4 separate regions of the Homo sapiens genome follow, and regions 1, 2 and 4 are each linked to region 3. The links are contacts of gene promoters, found by promoter capture Hi-C in blood cells and fetal thymus (Javierre and others, 2016). All regions are on one chromosome and are shown on one strand. Each heading gives the region's core, a stretch centred on a gene start or on the middle of the fragment in contact. The rest is flanking DNA. Distances are from core to core; before and after follow the strand shown.

The links. Contacts are between HindIII fragments. The CHiCAGO score rates a contact against its expected background, and 5 or more counts as called.
Region 1: a contact is called between a fragment that was not itself captured here and the fragment with the promoter of TUBE1 in region 3, in 5 of 17 cell types (total CD4 T cells, total CD8 T cells, naive CD4 T cells and 2 more). The highest score is 8.5, in total CD4 T cells.
Region 2: a contact is called between a fragment that was not itself captured here and the fragment with the promoter of TUBE1 in region 3, in 2 of 17 cell types (naive CD4 T cells and naive CD8 T cells). The highest score is 6.2, in naive CD4 T cells.
Region 4: a contact is called between a fragment that was not itself captured here and the fragment with the promoter of TUBE1 in region 3, in 2 of 17 cell types (total CD4 T cells and non-activated CD4 T cells). The highest score is 5.3, in total CD4 T cells.

The regions. Positions count from the first base shown.
Region 1 is chr6:110,983,977-110,987,455 of GRCh38, reverse strand. RPF2 (ribosome production factor 2 homolog) reads right to left here. Exons shown (of 10, transcript NM_032194.3): 2 at 2,318-2,450. Among named protein-coding and RNA genes, the nearest start is that of RPF2, 3.7 kb to the right of the region's middle. The HindIII fragment of the contact is 1,341 bases long and covers 886-2,226 here.
Region 2 is chr6:110,951,287-110,954,923 of GRCh38, reverse strand. No RefSeq gene overlaps it. Among named protein-coding and RNA genes, the nearest start is that of GTF3C6, 5.6 kb to the left of the region's middle. The HindIII fragment of the contact is 4,472 bases long and covers 1-3,637 here.
Region 3 is chr6:112,086,048-112,089,651 of GRCh38, reverse strand. TUBE1 (tubulin epsilon 1) reads left to right here and starts at 2,170. Exons shown (of 12, transcript NM_016262.5): 1 at 2,170-2,242; 2 at 2,346-2,419; 3 at 3,044-3,096. The coding sequence starts at 2,218. It overlaps FAM229B (family with sequence similarity 229 member B), which reads right to left and starts at 2,061. Exons shown (of 4, transcript NM_001033564.3): 1 at 1,932-2,061. RefSeq lists enhancers at 2,001-2,190, 1,925-2,456, 2,591-2,640. The HindIII fragment of the contact is 2,028 bases long and covers 1,541-3,568 here.
Region 4 is chr6:111,070,956-111,074,239 of GRCh38, reverse strand. No RefSeq gene overlaps it. Among named protein-coding and RNA genes, the nearest start is that of SLC16A10, 15 kb to the left of the region's middle. The HindIII fragment of the contact is 151 bases long and covers 1,817-1,967 here.

The DNA of each region.
Region 1 (3,479 bases), core at 307-2,806, 1.1 Mb after region 3:
ATTTCAAAAAAGGGATGGGCCTATATAAGGCATTCAGACATCTGAATTGACTATGCTTATCAGGCATAGAGTTTGGTCAAGTTTAAAATATATTCAAAGCCAGGCATGGTGGCTCACTCCTGTAATCTCAGCACTTTGGGAGGCCGAGGCGGACAGATCATGTCAGGTCAGGAGTTTGTGACCAGCCTGGCCAACATGGTGAAACCCTGTCTCTACTAAAAGAACACAGAAATTAGCTGGGTGTGGTGGCTCCCAGCTACTTGGGAGGCTAGAGGCAGGAGAATCGCCTGAACCCGGGAGTCAGAGGTTGCAGTAAGCCAAGATGGCACCACTGCACTTCAGCCTGGGCAACAGCGTGAGACTCCACCTCAATAACAACAACAAAAATGTATTCGATTACTTAATTGATTTAATTCAAAGATCTATTGGCTGTACTCAAGGCCTAATTAGTCAAATAACCTACTAGATATCTCCACATACTATGTCTTTTTTTTTTTTTTAGTTGGAGTCTTGCTCTGTTACCCAGGCTGGAGTAAGTGCAATGGCGTGGTCTCAGCTCACTCCAACCTCCATCTCCCAGGTCCAAGCAGATTTTCCGGCCTCAGCCTCCCTAGTAGCTGGGATTACAGGCGCCCACCACCATGGCTGGCTAATTTTTGCATTTTTAGTAGAGACAGGATTTCACCGTGTTAGCCAGGCTGGTCTCGAACTCCTGACCCCGTGATCCGCCCACCTCGGCCTCCCAAAGTGCTGGGATTACAGGTGTGAGCCACTGTGCCTGGCCCATACTATGCCTTTCTTTCATAGATTACATATATATTGAGTACCTACTATGTCCAGACACTGGGCTGTACACTAGGCTACAGAGGTAGAAAAAACAAAGCTTTTATTTTCATTACTTAAATTACATGTCCCAAACCGAACCTTTCACCTTTCCCTCCAAACCTGCTCCGCTTGATACATTTTCTAATTGGCATTATTGCCCATCAGGCACTCAAGCCAAACACCTGGGAAGTCATACTTTTCACTAGTTCCCAACTCTTCTTTCCTCAACATCTATTCTTTCTGGTCATTTCTCATTTTCATTGCCACCACTGGACTCCAGATGCTCTTCACCTAGCTGGCAGCAATGGCTTAGTTTCCTACATTTGCTCTCAACCCTCTCTAATCAAGCCAATTAAAAGGACTGATGGTATCTCTTGCTTAATATCTTTCAATGATTACACGGAGCTTTCAGATTAGAATTCAAATTTCATGTTACTATGTGACCCATGCCTCCTCTTCTAGCCTCATCTAGCCCACTCTCCTTTGGCCATGCCCAATTATTTACAGTTCTCCAAATGCATCAATGCTCCTTCATACTCCCTTTTGCACAAACTTCTTTCTCAGCCTCAGAGGATCTTCTCTTTCTCTCCCACTTCTTGCACCAACTTCTCCTTCAAAATGAAGCTGCAGTGTTATCTCTGGGGGAACCTACCCTGTGTGGGGGTCCCCCTATGTGATTTTTTTTTTTTTTTTTTGAAATGGAGTCTCTCTCTGTCACTCAGGCTGGAGCAGTGGCACAATCTCGACTGACTGTGACCTCCACCTCCCAGGTTCAGGCGATTCTCCTGCCTCAGCCTCCCGAGCAACTGGGACTACAGGCGCCCGCCACCACACCCGGCTAATTTTTGTACTTTTAGTAGAGACGGGGTTTCACCATGTTGGCCAGGCTGGTCTCGAACTTCTGACTTCGTGATCCTCCTGCCTCGGCCTCCCAAAGTGCTGGGATTACAGGCGTGAACCACCGTGCCTGGCCTCCCCTATGTGATTTTAACTGTTTCCCACCCTACCCTGTCCATGCCTCCAGCACAGCACAGTGTAAGAACTTTTTACATGTCTATCTCTCTAAGCTCACTGAAAGAACTGTGTCTCACCTATTAATTCCCAGCAGAGGCACAGTAACCGGTGTTGTTGAATGACTAAATATACAGCAATATGCAGTTACTTCTCTTTACAAATTAGATTTTTTCCTAAAATGTAAGTAAGCCAAATTCTAGTAATTGAAAACAGTTTAAATTTACTAAGGGAGACCTTCACTCTACCAGACCCACCTGTGCTCCTAAAAAACAATAATAAAATTTACTAAGAGAACTAGTTGCTTTAAGAAAAGGTGCCACGCAAGGTAAATAAACCCCCAACTTTAGCTCTTCTCTAAGACTAGTAGTTCTTATGGTAAGGCAAGCTTATCTACGTATTTCTCCGACAGCCCATCCTAGCATGCTGAAAATTCTAAAATGACTTCAATACCTTTTAAAGATTAAGTATATATACTTACCACATCTTTAAGTACTTTTGTCACTGTTGCATTTGCATTTCCCCCTTTAATCAGCATGGCATTTTTAATATTTTCATTGAGTTTCGGTTCTCTCTTCTCAAGGAATCTCTTGGCTCTTTTCGTTTTGGGCTTTCTGTTCAGAAAAGCACAATTCATAACTATTTAAACATTTTCCTCACATTGCAAAGCCATGACTTAACTAATATGAAAATTCTTAAAAACATATTTGTCACTTAGGGTTCCACCCTTAAAAAAAATCTCACTTTCTTTTTTTTGTTTGTTTTTTTTTGTTTGTTTTTGAGATGGAGTCTCACTCTGTCACCCAGGCTGGAGAGTGATGGCACAATCTTGGCTCACTGCAACATCCACCTCCTGAGTTCAAGCAATTCTCCTGCCTCAGCCTCCCGAGTAGCTAGAATTACAGGCACACACCACCACGCCTGGGTAATTTTTGTATTTTTAGCAGAGACAGGGTTTCGCCATGTTGGTCAGGCTATTCTCGAACTACTGACCTCAGGTGATCCGCTCACCTCGGCTCCCAAAGTGCTGGGATTACAGGTGCGAGCCACAAGGGCCGGCCAAAATCTCACTTTTTTGGTAGATATTAGTAAAAGATATTTCCTTATTATTGTTAAATAAGTGTTTTGATAGCTTTTAAAAAAAAGCTTTCATTTTTGTATTCCCACCATTCTTTTATTACTGCTCTTTCCAATCTTTTTTTTAAGTAAAAAATAAAAGGCTCAAGTAAATACTGTTGCTGTTTTTTTTCTCTTACTCTTTCTTACTCTTCTTTTTTCTTCAAACTTTAAGTAGTCAAACTGTATCCTGTACCCTAATACAAAGAATTGAGCATCAACTGCTGATCAACCTGTGGACATTTACTAAACATAAGACTAACGACTGCTTATTTTTCTTTTAGGTTTAAGACCACAATGCCTGCCAGGAAGTATACACTGTTGCACTCCAACATCATTGCTGAGAATGCCAGTATTATTGCCAACAATGGGGAATAATAAGGCTGATGTTTACATGGAGTCACTCTATTAAGGCTTAATCTTCACCACAATCCTGAGAGTTACAATTCTTATTTATTTATTTATTTATTTTTTTGAGACAGAGTCTCGCTCTGTCGCCCAGGCTGGAGTGCAGTGGTGCGATCTCG
Region 2 (3,637 bases), core at 400-2,899, 1.1 Mb after region 3:
GCAAGCCTATAAAGAGAGATAGTAGGTTGGGCGTGGTGGCTCACACCTATAATCCCAGCTCTTTGGGAGTCCAAGGTAGGAGTATCCCTTGAGGCCAGGAGTTTGAGACCAGCCTGGGCAACATAGAGAGATCCCATCTCTATCTTTAAAGAGAGAGAGAGATTAGTGGTTGCCAGGGGCTTGGGAGGATGGTGGAATGAGGAGCGACTGCTACTGGATGAGGAGTTCCTTTTTTTTTTTTTTTTTTTAAGTAAAAGCAAGTTTATTAAGAAAGTAAAGGAGCCGGGTGTGGTGGCTCATGCCTGTAATCCCAGTACTTTGGGAGGCCGAGGCAGGTGGATCACCTGAGGTTAGGAGTTCGAGACCAGCTGGCCAACATGGCAAAACCCTGTCTCCACTAAAAATACAAAAATTAGCTGGGTGTGGTGGCGGGTGCCTGTAATCCCAGCTACTTGGGAGACTGAGGTGGGAGAATCGCTTGAACACAAGAGGCGGAGGTTGTGGTGAGCCAAGATCGTGCCCCTGCACTCCAGCCCGGGCGACAAGAGTGAAACTCCGTCTCAAAAAAAAGAAAGTAAAGGAATAAAGGAATGGCTACTCCATAGGCAGAGCAGCAGTTTGGGCTGCTCTACTGATAATACTTAATTAAGTTCATTTTTGATTATATGCTAAACAAGGGGTGGGTTATTTATGAGTTTTCCAGGAAAGGGGTGGGCAATTCGCAGAACTGAGGGTTCCTCCCCGACTTAGACCATATAGGGTAATTTCTGGACATTGCCATGGGATCTGTAAACTGTCATGGCGCTGGTGGGACTGTCTTTTAGCATGCTAATGCATTATAATTAGCATATAATGAACAATGAGGATGACCAGAGGTCACTCTCGTCACCATCTTGGTTTTGGTGGGTTTTGGCCAGCTTCTTTACTTCATCTTGTTTTATCCACAAGGTCTTTATGACCTGTATCTCGTGCTGACCTCCTATCTCATCCTGTGACTTAGAATGCCTAACCTCATGGGAATGCAGCCCAGTAGGTCTCAGTCTTATTTTACCCAGCCCCTATTAAAGATGGAGTTGCTCTAGTTCAAACGCCTCTGACATATTCCCCCACCCTTTTACAAGGGAACCCTTAATCCTAAGGGTTGTAGAGGGATGAAGATCCATTTTCTGTCACTTTTTCAGGATGAATAGGGGCAATTATATTCCTGCCTAACTATGAGGGGCTCTTGTATTCAGAGTAGAGAGGAGCTTAGTCAGAAAGCATCAGTATGGTGAGGGCCACTCATAACTCTTGAGTTCTGACAAAAGGTGATATAGTTTCCAAATTCTAGAGAAAACAGGTAGAGAGAGACTAATATGCTCCAAAGTTTGTTCACAGGAATATACTTTACTCAATTTTTAAAAGCTATAAATAGCTCAAAGGAAAAGTTTTCTTGATTCCAAAGTCAGCCAATTGTGGTGCTTCGGTCTATTTCCTTTGGGTTGGGAGTCTCCTCAGTTTAGTTGCTTCATGGTTTGCCAGGAAGATGTTACTGGAAAGGGGTCCTGATCCAGACCCCAAGAGAGGGTTGTTGGACCTCACACAAGAAAGAAGTTGGGGAGAGTCCATTGAGAAAAGTGAAAGCAAGTTTATTAAGAAAGTAAAGGAATAAAGAAGGGCTACTCCATAGGCAGAGCAGCCAGGAGTTTCTTTTTGGGTGATGAAAATGTTCTGAAATTAATGGCAATGGTTGCACAGTTCTGTTAATGTACCAAAAAAAAAAAAAAAAACCAACTGTATATTTTTAAAGGGTGATTTTTATGGTATATGAATTATATCTTGATAAAGCTGTTTTTTTCCTTTTGTTTTTTGTTTAAAAAAAGAATAGAAACACTTTTAAACTGAACAGAGCAGAGGAAATTTGCTTGGGGCGATCAAGGAAAAATCTTTGAAAGCTAGATAAGGGCTAGAACCATGGTGGCTGCATAGAAATATAATTTGGCTCTGGATCCAAAAAAGATGGCTTAAGGACCCATGGCTGAGAGGAAGAAAAGTTGGAAAGGGTCAAGTGTTATTAGTTTGCTTTAACTGAACCCACTTTAAGCCTTGTCTACTGAAACTAAGGCTGCTGAGGCAGAAATAATTTGAAAAACATTTATTGGAAGCCAAATGTGAGGATTGAACTGGGAAGACACACCAACCAGAGTTAGGAGTGTTCTGGAGTCTGTTACAAGTTACTGGAACAGGCTTTTAAAAGGACGGCCTTTTTTAGGAGAAGGGAGGAGAAGGAGAGGGAGGGAAGGAGAAGGGAGGAGTACTCCTTATACCAAAGTTATTGGAGCGTACAGACAGTACAGAAGTTACAGTCATTGGCTACAGATTGCAACATGCAGGATAAAATGTCTGTGTGCAAGACAATCAGTAAAACTTCATGATCAGAAGTCAGTGTCCTTTCCATTGTCAGTAAGTTATGCATTAATCAGTATGTCAACAATTTGAAGAGCGCACAGATTCTTTACTCAGGGATAGGATGTTGCCATGAGTCACAAGACCTCCCCAAGGCAAGTTAATTTGGAAGCCAGTTTACTTTAAAAGTAAACTACCAAGTGTGACATATAGGTTATCAGCCTCATGATAGTCTCAAAAGATAACTATTATCAAGAATGACATTTAATGAATTATCAAGATTATTTAACAATTAACTAGCAGGGCACAACGACTCAGCCATGCTGGGGTAGGGTCCTGGGAAAGTTGGATCATGGGGAGGCCTGGAGTGAGCTAAAGGCTTGCGGTGGTTGCTTGTTACTGGCTGATACGGGAAAAATGTCTCTAATTTAACAACTGGTATGTTTTTAATCAGTGCATACAAGCTAAATATCAGCCCTCATTAGTCTAACTTCCATTTTACACTTTGGGAAACTGACACTTAGAAAATTAGGAAACTTGGCCGGGAGCGATGGCTCACACTTGTAATTCCAGCACTTTGGGAGGCCGAGGCGGGTGGATCACAAGGTCAAGAGATCGAGACCTTCCTGGCCAACATGGTGAAACCCCATCTCTACTAAAAATACAAAAATTAGGCTGGGCACGGTGGCTCACGCCTGTAATCCCAGCACTTTGGGAGGCTGAGGCGGGCAGATCATGAGGTCAGGAGATCAAGACCATCCTGGCTAACATGGTGAAACCCTGTCTCTACTAAAAATATAAAAAATTAGCCGGGCATGGTGGTGGATGCCTGTAGTCCCAGCTGAGGCAGGAGAATGGCATGAACCCGGGAGGCGGAGCTTGTAGTGAGCCGAGATCGTGCCACTGCACTCCAGCCTGGGTGACAGAGCAAGACTCCATCTCAAAAAAAAAAAAAAAAAAAAGCAAAAATTAGCTGGGCGTTGTGGCATGCGCCTGTAGTCCCAGCCGGGAGGCTGAGGCAGGAGAATCACTTGAACCCAGGAGGCGGAGGTTGCAGTGAGCCAAGATCATGCCACTGCAGTCCAGCCTGGCGACAGAGCGAGATTCCGTCTCAAAAAAGAAAGAAAGAAAATTAGGAAACTTATCTGACTTACTACACTCTATTGTCTTTTCTGGGAAAGCAGGTAGAGATGCCAACCTCTGCATCAGGCTAGTTAAGAGTCAACAGAATGAGATTGAGCATCCAGCCTTA
Region 3 (3,604 bases), core at 921-3,420:
AGTCCTTTAAGGTGGATGTTGTTGTCTTCAGTTAATTTCCTTAGTTCTTTTATCTCCATTTTATTTCATTTATTCATCAAATATTTATTTACTATCTACTATATGCAAGGTACTATCCCTAGTAGTGGATAAAACAACAAGACTCAGCCCTCATAGAGCTTGAGTCTTATTATTTTAGTATCTTGTCTTTAAGTTCCTGTTTTATTGCATTCATATTCTTAAGTTCTTCTTCAGCACAAAGTAGATATGATGAATTTTCTTTTCTCCCCTCTTAGGCTAGGTTTTACCCCAAGGTCTTGTACTTTATCCATCTTTTACATCGTTCCTTCCTTCCTCTCCCCCTTCCCTCCCTCTCTCCCTTCCATCCTTGTCTTCCTTCCTTCAATTTTAGGAGTCCATAGGATTCCCAATAATTTTTTTCTTTTTCATTTTCAGCATGTGGAATTCTGTTCACTCTATTTGCTCTGTATGTTGGTCAGCTATCACTACAATAAAACTGCACCCCAAAATTTCAGTAATTTCAACCAAAAACATTTCTCTTGCTTATAATATTCTGAATAGCCCGCTGCGGTTCAACCGATCTCAACTTGGCTCACCCGGGTTTGCATATACGGAAGTTTTGGAGTGGCTGGCATGTGAGGCTCTACCTTGCTTGGCTCTTAAGCAGAACTGTCTCTCAGTCTGATTCTCTAGAGACTGAAGTTATTAATAAGATGTGTTAGGACTTTTCTTTCCTGTGTGGGGAATAATGACTGGGACTGCATGAAGGGTAGGGCTCTGCAAAGGCCAGTGTATCATCTCACCTAGCACTGATAACACACTGATACAGACCTATTCACATCACTGCCTACAAACTGGACCAAGACTTGCAAATTTTGGAAGCCCCAGACGTTGGGACTTTAGCATCAAGACCTAAAATGCCCAACTTTACCTCTACCACTGACCCCATACTCAGTAAGAAGTTAAGAATAAATCCAGCCTACAAAAATTTACTGACCGAAAGCTGCCTATTACCAAAAGATATAAAATCCATTGCAACTTTAAACCTACCGGCTACCAGAGAAATTTAATAGTAACTACTACGTGTCTTGGTGGGACAATAAAGTGTTCTAATCCATTGAATATTACAGTTCATATTAGCACATATTCATAGCACATACCATATAACTTTTTATTAAACAAAGAAGACTTCTTAGAGTTTCGTAGTTCTTCAGAATTTTTGTGGAAAATATTAATTTCATTAAAGAAGTACTTGAGTTCTTAATTAAAATCTGGTCTAATTTGATCAATAGAAGTTTACATATTTTAATGTTTGACAATTTTAAGTAGTTGGTAATTGTCATAATGCCTAACTTTTTAATCTTCTCCTGCCTATCCCATCTAAATACCCATCTAAATGCCTAGTGTTAATCTCGTGTCTTCTATCAGACTTCTACATACTCATCTACATCCTCAACCACTGAATCCTATTGCACTTATAGTCAACGCCACACAATTCTTTAAGTATTTCGCGTGTATGTCTTCAATTAGATTGTAAGCTTCTTGGAACTGGATCTATGCCTTAATTTCTTTCTAATCTTCCCAGCGAGCCTACAAGTTAATTTGGGGAGTATACAGCGTTCAACAAATACTGGTTGGGTCTGTGACCTTAGCTTTGCCATTTTTGTCAAAGCGTATAACCATCTAGTTTCAATTGTGCCCTGACATGACTATTTCTCTGGGGTTTCTCTTTGCTCAACGCCATTGTTCATTTTCTATTAGAATAAAGGGCTTGTTGAACAGAGATGCCAACGCAGCGTCCCGTGGAATCTGAATAAACGGACTGATCCACCGCCCCGGGTGTTGAGGCTGTGAACAAAAATTAAACCTCTGATAGCCCACGAACAGCTTAACGACACATATTTTAAAATACCACTCCAAAGCCTAGTTACCTGCCAGTTACCCCGGCCTCCGGAGCTGCCGATGCTCGAAGATGTTGACAAGGCAGCTAGGATATACAGTCCAGAAGCCCAGTCGCTACGGTAACGGTGACACGCAAGTGCACTTGCGCGGCCTTCTGACGGAAAACCTTAGCCTGAACCTACAGACGTGCTTAGCGACGGCAGAGGCTTGCGGCAGTAGCGTGACTTACGGCAGCTCTCTAGCAGAGCGCCGTTGCTGGGGGAATGCAGAAGCGGCCGCGGGCTAGCAAGCTCCCGGAGCCGGCGGCGCACCACCATGACCCAGTCGGTGGTCGTACAGGGTAAGCTACGCCGGGCGGGTAGAGACCTGGTCGCCGCGGAATCCAGCGGCCATGTTTCCTGCTTAATGTCCTATTCTCTTTCCTTCCTCTCCTCCGGTCGCAGTCGGCCAGTGCGGAAACCAGATCGGCTGCTGCTTCTGGGACCTGGCACTAAGGGAGCACGCCGCGGTCAACCAGGTACCCGCCCGCCGCCGCGAGCCCCCTCGCCTGTCAGCTAGGTCTTCCAGCCCATACGCAGGAAATAATCGACTTGAGCTTTCATCTGACCCGTTTAAGATGCATGGGATCTTCCCAGTAAAGAACGTACTGGTTTTTAAACATGTTGCGTCAGACACACACTAAACTAAAAGAACACTGGCCAGCGACCTTAGTCTTAACGTTTTTCCTGATTCTCAGGGTCTCCTCTTTATTGGTGTTCGTGTGCAGAACAGTGAGATTTGTATATGGGAAAGTACTTTGTAAAATAGATAACACGTGTGGTTATTGTATTCCTTAATTTAACCAGTCAGCTTTTAAAAAGATTACGAAGAATCCAGAGAACGCTCATTTGATGGACCTGTCCTACAGTCCTATGGGTGAAATCCTTTCTTTAGCACCCCCTGCTGAACTTTTTATCTGTAGATCTGGCATTTACTCTTCTAAGGAGATTGGGAAGAGTCAGGCTCCGCATTTTGTGATACTTGGTTTTTCTTATCAGAGTCTCATCCTAGCCATTACAGTATTATGTAATTAAAATTGAAAGAACTTGATTTGGGCGAGAAGCAAAACCTAAATGCTATTAACATATGTTTTTCTTTTTAGAAAGGAATTTATGATGAGGCAATAAGCAGCTTCTTTAGAAATGTGGACACCAGGTAAGATGGGATTAAAGTCTGTCACAGTGTGATACTTTAAGTTTCAGTAGCTTGGGAGAGAATTCTTCAAAGGACAATAAAAATAGCCAGCTGCGAAGTTGTGTTTTTTTGTTTCATTATTGAAAGCATATTTATTCTATTAGATTATTAATATTCTTATATCATTTTCCCGAAGAAGACAACAGATTTCCCTTTAGTGTGACTTCTTTTAACTTAACCTTGAAATAAGTTTCATTAAAAGAAAGCTGAAATTTTCCCAGAGGGCATCTTGTTAATGCATCCTGTAATAACTAACTTTTGAAAGAAAAATATATTGTTTACATATATGCTGTAAGTATAAAAATATACTTAAAAAGGTGACAAGCAGTTGTTGGATTGTTTTTGTTTATTTAATAAAGAGTATATGTAAGTACCATATATGTTTTATCTGGAAGAGTAATTTAAGTTGCCGTTTAGGATATCTCCATAAGCTTTTAATATTAAATCATTAAGTTCATGCATTTTCAAA
Region 4 (3,284 bases), core at 643-3,142, 1.0 Mb after region 3:
TAAGGCCAAGATATTGAACTTGAGATATGAAGTCTAGGACAGGAGCCAAAACCCCTACACTGGCAGATTAGAGCAGGATATCAGTTAGTGCTGGTGGAGATGCTGTGTCTTATCTCTCTTGGCTCTGACTCCAGCACAGTTCCTGCCTGGAACTTGAAAGGTGCTCCATATAAACATATAGAATAAATAAATGGCATATATAATGTAAGAACAAGCAGAAGACCTAAAGAATACCAACTCAAAATCTGGATTCCAGACTTCAGGGTCAGAATCAGGAAACCAAGAAGTACAATGAGAAGAGAGTACTGAGCTAGACTCAGAATACATAGATGGCCACAAGTCAGAATTAAGAATGGTGGAAAACATGCCATTTTAACATGCTAGCCAGGGAGAAACACAAAATAGGTTTCTCCTATTATATGACAATTGTACTTATATGACAAGTGACAACAAACTGGTTTAGCATCAGTAAAGAATTAAGAGTTTTCAGAGAAGTAAACTCAAGATGAACCTATGGCTACTCCAAAACCATGCAAAATTAAACTACATTATTACAAATATAACATCTAGAATTGTGCTGCCCAATGTGATCACCGCTGGCCATACGCAGCTATTTAAATTTAAAATAATTAAAGTAAAATTAGAAGTTCAGTTCTTCATTCTCATCAGCCGTATGTCAAATGCCCAATAACCACAGGTGGTTATGATTGGACAGCACAGATACAGAACATTTTCCTAATCACCGAAAGTTCTATTAGACAGCACTGGCGTAATGAGCAGTAACAGTGACCCTCTGCTCTGGTGTATTCAGTCAGCCCTGCACATCACTCTAAGTGAAGCAGGGACCAAAAAAATCAGAAGAGGGTAACCACAAAGCTAAAATTCATCATTTGTGAAATAGTTCAAAAGACTAGAGATATTAAGCCTGGAGCAGAGGAAAACTCAGTAGGGGATGTGAAGATTATCTTCAAATATTGGAGGACTAGCATGTGGATAAGGAAATGATATTGTTACAAGTGACATAAGGGATAGAATTAAACTCATGGATCAGACTTAGAAGGAAAAAGATTGCTATCTCAGCAGAAAGAAGAACTCCTTCTCCATCAGAGCTGTCCAAAGTCAGGGTAGACTGCCTCATAAAGGAGTGACCCGCCATCCTGGGGATCTCAGGCAAAGGCTGAGCATAGGCCTGACAAACAGGTAGGACAAAACAGACACAGACAGGGTGCAGTGGTTCACGCCTGTAATCCCAGTGCTTTGGGAGGCTGGGGCAGGAGGATCATTGAGCCCAGGAGTTAGAGGCTGCAGAGAGCTATGATTGTGCCACTGCACTCCAGCCTGGGCAACAGACCAAAACCCTGTTTCAAAAAAATAAAGTAAAAAGAAATAAAAAACAACTTTTGGAAAGAAGGAAATTATTTATTTATCAAATATGTCAGGCAGGAGGGGAGACTTCAAACGTGAATGGTTAGAATAATCTTTGAAACCCTTTCAAACTCTGAGAACTTCTGACGCCTCTGGTTGAGATTCAACCACTGGCTGAGAAATTCTGGAGGGTGAAGTAGGCAAAGGGTCTGGACTCTTGAACAAGATCAGGTGGAAACTCAAGAATATGACAGGTGAGAGAGAGCTCCAGAGCAAAAGAGGAGAAGAAAACAGTGATCAATTAAGTGGAAGTAAGTGGAGCAGAGGGACAGAAAAGGAGATATAAGAGGAGGGGGACATCTTGAGAAAGAGAAAGACTAAAAGACTTGGAGTGTGAAGGAAGAATGGAACAAGTGTGGGAGGTTTGTGACAAAAGGCACAAATAGAAGCTTCGATTTTGACTCTTCCCTGACTCAGACAGCTCTTCATGAGACAGTTTCTTAAATAAGAGTAGAAAAAATATGATGGGCTATGTAGCCAGAGAGCTTGATAAAGGGAGACAAAAACAGATGAATAAAATAAACACAACACATTACAAAGCTTTTGAAATACCAAAGTGGAAAATATTTGAACACCGCCACCCACAGAGACAAAAGGATTTCATCTCCTACTGCCCACATACCCTCCAGACGTCCAATAGTCTAATAAAAAATAATATATTAGAAATTTTTTAAAAGATCTTTTTTTTTTTTTTTTTTTAACAGACAAGGTCTCACTATGTTACCCAGGCTGGCTGCTCGAACTCCTGTGCTCAAGCAATCCTCCTGCCAAGGCCTCCCAAAGTACTGGGATTACAGGTGTGCCACTGCAGCGGCCATATTGGGAACTATTTTGAAATGAGGATTGTATTGGTTTCCTATTACTGCTATAACAAATCCCCACAATGTACTGGCTTAAAATAGCACAAATTGATTCTCTTACAGATTTGAAGGTCAGCAGTCTGAAGTCAGTCTTACCGGGCTAAAATTAAGATGTTAGCAGGGCTGGAGGCTCCAAGGGAGAATCTGTTCCTTGTCTCTTCCAATTTCTATTTATCATATAATGAAATATATTTAATTATTTTAATAAAAAATAGATCCTGGCCAGCACAGTGGCTCGTGACTGTAATCCCAGAACCTTGGGAGCCCACGGTGGGTGGTGGATCATTTGAGGCCAGGAATTCCAGACCAGCCTGGCCAACATGGTGAAACTCTGTCTCTACTAAAAATACAAAAATTCGCTGGGCGTGGTGGTGTGCACCTGTAATCTCAGCTACTCAGGAAGCTGAGGCAGGAGAATTGCTTGAACCCGGGAGACAGAGGTCGTAGTGAGCCAAGATCATGCCACTGCATTCCAGCCTGGGCCATAGAGCGAGACTCTGTCAAAAAAAAAAAAAAAAAAAAAAGAGAAAGAAAGACAGAAGAAAGAAGGAAGGAAAGGAGGGAAGGAGGGAGGAAGGAAGGAAAGGTCCTTACCATTTATGATGAGTTTAGCCTCAAAGAAATCTTTCTGTTGGGAAACCTAGATGTACTACTCAGTTTCTATAATAGTAGTGCATGTCTACACCACCTGATAGCTTTGAGCACTAATTGTAGTCATAAAGCATTTGTGAGATTTTAAGATTAAATTTTGACTCCTTTCCAACTCATTCTAAAATGTGGGGAGGACTGTTAAATCTTTCTGCACTGTGGTTTCTGGCCACATTTAAGTCTGGGCTTTCTTCCCTGACCTGGCACAAATCACAAATTAAGAGTGATATGGGCTTTTATAGTCAAACAACCTTTTAAAAGGTTAAAATATATATATATATATCTCCAATAATGGCCACTTTCTATGATATAAGAATTTGAGGGAGCAAATTTGGCACAATTCTCGTCAGT